Linked DNA regions of Homo sapiens: region 2 is linked to region 1. Evidence: promoter capture Hi-C in human tissues and cell types (Jung and others, 2019). All regions are on one chromosome and are shown on one strand. The core of a region is centred on a gene start or on the middle of the fragment in contact, and the rest is flanking DNA. Distances in the headings are between cores, read along the strand shown. Region 1 holds the start of BHLHE41 (basic helix-loop-helix family member e41). Region 2 overlaps RASSF8 (Ras association domain family member 8).

What was found. Contacts are between HindIII fragments. The study calls those that stand out against the background at their distance.
Region 2: a contact is called between a fragment that was not itself captured here and the fragment with the promoter of BHLHE41 in region 1, in 1 of the 25 tissues and cell types used here (hippocampus).

The regions. Positions count from the first base shown.
Region 1 is chr12:26,122,994-26,126,303 of GRCh38, reverse strand. BHLHE41 (basic helix-loop-helix family member e41) reads left to right here and starts at 1,267. Exons shown (of 5, transcript NM_030762.3): 1 at 1,267-1,586; 2 at 1,722-1,785; 3 at 2,125-2,232; 4 at 2,563-2,674; 5 at 3,136-3,310. The coding sequence starts at 1,525. It also overlaps a transcript of SSPN not described here. The HindIII fragment of the contact is 3,249 bases long and covers 782-3,310 here.
Region 2 is chr12:25,962,346-25,965,890 of GRCh38, reverse strand. All of the region lies in intron 1 of RASSF8 (Ras association domain family member 8), which reads right to left. Among named protein-coding and RNA genes, the nearest start is that of RASSF8-AS1, 4.7 kb to the right of the region's middle. The HindIII fragment of the contact is 5,796 bases long and covers 1-3,545 here.

The DNA of each region.
Region 1 (3,310 bases), core at 18-2,517:
CTGGGAGTCCCTCAGGACATGCCTTCCCCTGGGCTGGCAGGGCGGCGTGGGCAGTGCGCATCCCCGGGCACCTCCCGGTAACTCTCACTAGCAGTGAGTCATGCTCCCAGGGTGGCTCTGGGGAAAGGTAACCCGGCTCTTGCTGGCCTGTGATTCCCGGCGCCGAGCGCCGCGGCTGCAGGGCGAGCGCGCGCGCGCACGGGTTCCCCGAGCAGTGATGTGGCAGCAGCGGCAGGTCGGATCACGTTGCTGGCCCTGTGCTGGTACCCGTTTGAGACCGGATTAAGGAGGGAGGCTTTGGAGGTGCCAGCGGTAGTAAACGTGGGCTCTGCACACTCCGGGCGTCTCTTATCGCGCGGGGGGGCGGGGGGATGGGGAAAGCACGTAGCGTCACCGGAGGCTCAGAACGCGGCAGAGTTGAGCGGGCGGGTGATAAATGCTGCATAGCTTTTCTGTGGTAGCCCCTCTCGTGCCACCCCCTCTCGTGCCACCCCCTTCTCCCTTCCCAGCCCCCACTCAACCCCGGCTCGCTCCCCGCCGCGTTCCTCCAGGAGCACACGCGGCCCCAAACGTCGTCATCTGCTGCTGTGATTAGTGGCACCGCAATTCCGGCTGCTGCGGGGAAGTTTAGTTGGCCCAGGGACGCCGTGTCACCGAAAGACACTTGGATTGCGACATTCGGACCCAGTGACAACGTTTTCATGTATCTTAAATCCTTCAAGGAGCGGATTGCAAGTTGCTTCTTCTCGAGGCAACCTCTCCACCCAGCGCCAAGGAGTCCCTCCAGGCCACTGATCAGTGAGCAAACAAGTCTCCAAAATTTCCTTTGGGACTCAAGTTTACCCACCGCGAATTCTCTTTTCACTTCCTTTCTATGGTTCAAACCAACAGCACAATCGGTGGAAAAGCAAAAAGCCACGTTCACATTCCTGCACCGTAACAACGGACGAACCCAGGGAGTCGCATTTTGGAGCCAAGGAAGCTCAGGCTGCCCCGCACCCCTGCACCCCCACTCCCCCCTCCTCCTGCCGACTGCATCGCCTTTGGGAAGATGAATAGCTTGGCCGAAGTTGTTTTTCCTTTCCGGTGGCCCTGATCAGGTGTCCCCGCCCCCTCCTGCCGTTCGCCTTCTCTCGCCGCCTTCTCCCGACGCCCCCGCCCGGCCCGGCCCCTCCTCCCCCGCCCCCCTCCGGGCTGGACCGCGGATGGTACGTTCCGCACGTGAGCTGGGTGCTGGTCTGGCCGGCGACGCGCGTGCCCTGTGGCCAAACACTGCCTGGAGTGAGAGCAAACTACCAGCGCAGTGGGGCCGGCGCGAGTGTGCGTGTGTGTGCGTGTGTGTGTGCGAGCGCGGTGGAGGGGGGGGACCAACTGCTTCACACTTTCAACACTGCACTGAAGAGGGAGAGCGAGAGAGAGACTGGAGACGCACAGATCCCCCCAAGGTCTCCCAAGCCTACCGTCCCACAGATTATTGTACAGAGCCCCAAAAATCGAAACAGAGGAAACGAACAGCAGTTGAACATGGACGAAGGAATTCCTCATTTGCAAGAGAGACAGTTACTGGAACATAGAGATTTTATAGGGTAAGGTGCACGCACCCTTGCGAATATCTGTCTAGGCTTTGGTTTGATTTTTTTCTTCTCCAGAAAGTGGTATGGAGCTGGCGAGGGCAGAGCCCCTCCCCGAATGGGTGCCTGATGCTGATTTCTGTTTTGCAGACTGGACTATTCCTCTTTGTATATGTGTAAACCCAAAAGGAGCATGAAACGAGACGACACCAAGGTAAGTGTAAGTTCCCGATATTCCTCATAACCTGCATGGGTAGTTAATTAGAGCCATTGATTTCACAGTGAAGCTCTGCCCGCAAATATATTCCAGCCCCTGAGCTTCCCCAACTGTGAATTTTAAGTGGCTTGCTGGGTACTCTCAGGGGGATATTAAACATCATACCTGAATTTAAATTGCATTGCAGAACAGTCCAGAGGAAAGAGGTTTCTTGGGTGTAGTTTATCACATAGTATGTTTTATGGTGGGGGGGCGGGGGGGGCAGACGAGGGTAATATCCAATAAGTGAATGTTTCGCTTACTGTTTTCTCTTTTCCATGACTCTCATATATTAAGGATACCTACAAATTACCGCACAGATTAATAGAAAAGAAAAGAAGAGACCGAATTAATGAATGCATTGCTCAGCTGAAAGATTTACTGCCTGAACATCTGAAATTGACAGTAAGATGCACATTTTCATTCTTTGCTGCTCTCCAAGGGCGTGTTAATAGTCTGGTGCGACTCCCAGAAAATATAAGAATAAATGTAAATATAAGTTCCTGACTTAAAACTTGTGCTATACCGTACAGAGTTTCCCGCAAACTGGAGTAGGTGCTCCCAGCTGAAGGCAAGAAATCATTTATAACCTGTCTTGTGGAAAGCTCAAGAAGTAAAAGAACAGTACTTCTTTCAAAGTGTTTGCTTAAATTGCTGTGCTGAATGGACAGCCAATTAAGCCAAATGTGTGTTTTTAAGTAACCAAGTGCCCGTTTCTTTTTTGCACCACTGCAGACTCTGGGACATCTGGAGAAAGCTGTAGTCTTGGAATTAACTTTGAAACACTTAAAAGCTTTAACCGCCTTAACCGAGCAACAGCATCAGAAGATAATTGCTTTACAGAATGGTAAGTCAGTTCAGGGAGGCCAGCCTACCCTGATGAAGCGGGGCAGCCCACAGGGGAGCAGTGTCAGGACTCCCTCACCCGCACCCCATCTCTTTCCGTGGGCTCATGGGTTCCCTCTCATTTGTTAAATTGCTTATACTTTCCCTTCATTGGAACGAGCCCATTTCCCGAAGCATCCTAGAGGCTTTCAGCAGAACTCGGAGGAATCAGGATTTAAAGTGGCGGTTGCACCCGCTCCACTTTGGTTTTCAGCTGGGAGGAGAGCGCCCTCTCCCCGCTCCGCACCTCCGCCACCCCGCTTCTCTCGTCAACTGGTGGATTATATCACTTGAATACTGGGGAAAAACCGAGATCACTTTAGTCGATGCAGGGCCCACGTGATAAGCAGATGTTTTAACGTGGGTATGTTTCTTCTTGCCTCCACTCCTCCGTCCCCCACCCCCATCCCTTCCTCATCCTAGGGGAGCGATCTCTGAAATCGCCCATTCAGTCCGACTTGGATGCGTTCCACTCGGGATTTCAAACATGCGCCAAAGAAGTCTTGCAATACCTCTCCCGGTTTGAGAGCTGGACACCCAGGGAGCCGCGGTGTGTCCAGCTGATCAACCACTTGCACGCCGTGGCCACCCAGTTCTT
Region 2 (3,545 bases), core at 87-2,586, 160 kb after region 1:
ACTCAGCAATGAAGAGGAATAAACTACTACTACATAAATCAACATGAATGAATCTCCAAACCATTATTCTGAGTTTAAGAAGCCTCAACAACAAAAAAAAGTATATTACTGCATAATTCCATTAATCTAAAATTCCAGAAAATTTGAACTACTCTATAGTGACAGCAGACCAGTGGTTTAGAGGAAACGGGAGAATGAAAGGAAGATAAATTACAAAGGAGAATGAGAAAATTTGGGGTGGGCATGGTGGCTCTCGCCTGTAATCCCAGTACTTTGGGAGGCTAAGGTGGGCGGATCATTTGAGGTGGAGAGATAAGCCTGGCCAACATGGCAAAACCCAGTCTCTACTAAAAATACATAACTTAGCCAGCCATGGTGGCACAAGCCTGTAGTCCCAGCTACTCGGGAAGCTGAGGCAGAATTGACTGAACCTAGGAGGCAGTGGTTGAGTGAGCCAAGATCATGCCACTGTACTCCAGCCTGGGCAACAGAGCAAGACCCTGTCTCAAAAAAAAAAAAAAAAAAAAGAAATTTGGGAAAGTGATGTGGGAATGATTTCATGTGTATACATAGATCAAATCTTGTAAAATTGTACAGTTAGGTATGTGCAGTTTATTGTGTGTCAATGATATCTCAATAAAGCTGTTTAAGGCTGGGCACGGTGGCTCATGCCTGTAATCCCAGCACTTTGGGAGGCCGAGGCAGGCGGATCACGAGGTCAGGAAATCAAGACCATCCTGGCTAACATGGTAAATCCTGTCTCTAATAAAAATGTAAAAAATTAGCTGGGCGTGGTGGCGGGGACCTGTAGTCCCAGCTACTCAGGAGGCTGAGGCGGGAGAATGGCATGAACCCGGGAGGCGGAGCTTGCAGTGAGCCAAGATCGTGCCACTGCACTCCAGCCTGGACGACAGAGCAAGACTCCGTCTCAAAAAATATATAAATTAATTAATTAAATAAAGCTGTTTAAAAAAAGAAATATAAGGGAAGTCATTATACACTAAAAAGAAAAAATACAGCACAAATAAACTACTATAAGATATTCTGACATTTAACGTATTAGAACTTCCCATAGAAATGAACAAATTTTACCTTCAACATTACAAAACATCCCTATTTCTCACTGGTATTTTTACAGTAGAGTTTCATCGATTATAAATCCACTCAAATATTTTAAGCAAAAATAAGGGTAAAACCTTACTTTCTGCCCAATATCTATCCATTAAAGAGAATCCCAATTTCTTTTAAACATATATACTTGTATCTGGAAGAATAATTTAGTCTTAAGCGATTTTCCAATAGTAAAATTACTATAAGGATAAACATGATTTAGCACTCACGAGCCAATGATAGCTAACAACAGTGACCAAATATAACAACAGTGACAAAATATATTACCTACATAAAACCTGGTAGCAAACCATCACAGCTCTCCTCTTGTTATAACCTGCATTTACATCTGATTTCTTTTTAAAACAAAGAGTAAAACATATGCTAATGAGTAAGAAAATATTTTGCTGCATACATAAAATTTGGACAGCCCTACAGTTCACTGCAATATTTTGTGATATATCTGAATGTGATTTAAAAAAAAAAAAAAACACTTGCTAAGAATAGCTTTCTAAATCCTATAGCAAGTCTGTGAAATAAATGGGTAATAAATATTATTGGTGTTAAAAAGCTCAAGGCAACTTGTTCAAGGTCACCCAAGTAACCAGTGGACATATATACATGGTGGAAAAAAAATAACAAGGGTTCCCAACCATAACTTTCCTCTCCTCCACAGTGGCAGCTACTCGTGATGCGAATGTCCTGCAGGCACAGAGGGCCTACACGAGGCAAATCACCTGGTGTGCCCCTCTCAGGGCTTGCTCTCAACATTTTTAAAATCAGGTCTAAATAAGCACCAGGGTAAGGGTCTGGCTTGCAGGGGCATCTCTCTCTTCTCATGCCTTCCTGACTAGAAAATCAGGAGTGGGGAAATGTAGGAACAAAAGGAACAATTTTCTTTTGTGAAGCAAATATATGGAAAGAAAGCCTAAGCTTCACTTTTCCAATTCTGACCAGATAAACTACTCACTCCTCCTCTTCGAGAGCACCCAACAGGGGCTCAAAAATGCTGCTTTCATCCTCCTTGCTCTCCCAACCCAAGAGCACCCAGGCTACGGAAACCTCAGGGTCCAGACCACTCAAAGGATCACAGTTTGGGAACCCCCGAGGTGGACTGCAGAGGAGTACGTTCTGAAGGACTTGAATCAGCTCCAAAGTGCCCCCACACACTCAGTGATCTATAAGATACAAAACTAGAAAGAACTAGAACTACACTCTAAGGGTGTGAGGAAATGATTTTTAAGGAATACTAAAGTCCTAAAAAACAAGTCAAGAGAAAAATGCAGAATTATGTAAGAAGTAGAGATTACAAACATCAATAACAGACATAAGTACTTCAGAGTTAGAGGACATCAAGCTAATATTTCGTAAAGAGCAACCACATGACAAAAATACTCAAAGCTGTAAGCCTTCCTTGGCCTTGGAAGGTCATGAGACTTTTTTTTTTTTTTTTTTTTTTGGCTAAAACAAGGAATGCTTTAGTGAGAGAGAAGAAAAGAACTTCCAGACTTCTAGGTGGCTCCCACTTTTTTTAAAAAAAACTCCTCCTCTCTCTTAAGTGTATGGTCCAGTGATGTCTGGTTACCATGCAAGTCACATCAACAGCTGGACAGCACTGAGCATCCTTAGAACTCTAGGTCTTGTTTTTCTACTAAAGTTTTCCCAATCTTCCTTTGATGTCTGGCACCACCAGCCGACAGCAGCTGACTAACGTGTTATCATGTGACGCTCTGTAAAATAGTAAGGCACAGTAAGATTTTTTTTCCTTTCAGTAAGCTTATGCTGATAAAAAAATAATTATTTTAATGATGTATTTAGAAAAAGGATTATGTACAACAGAAAGTCACAAGGGTAACACTAATTAAAAGGTGTCTCAATTTATTACTACGAATATTTCACAGAACCTACATGCATTTTTACCTGATATTTGCAAAGGCCGTTTCATATTATACATATAACCAGCAAAGAAGGAATATAGAAAAGTGTGGGTCTGGCTTTTCTATCATGAAAAGCAAATTTAACAGTGATAAAGAAGGCAATCAAGATACAAATACAGAAGCCAGGCATGGTGGCACACACCTGTAGTCCCAGCTACTCAGGAGGCTGAGGCAGGAGGATCACTTGAGGCCAGGAGTTTAAGACCAACTGGGCAACATAGTAAGACTCCATTTCAAAAAAAAAAGATAAAGATACAAACTGATATTACGATCTTACTCATTATATCAACATATTTATTGAGCACCTACTACATATACTGGGCACTGGTGATTAAACCAGGTATTATCAACTTCATATTAACCTAAAGGGCAAGAAAAGGACCCTAAGTGATTAAATAATATATAAATTGTGGTAAATATTCAGAAGCAAAAGTGATTACGCTATGAGGGAGAAAATAAAGGACATTTAATTCGCATGACGATAAGGGTGGGCTTGTC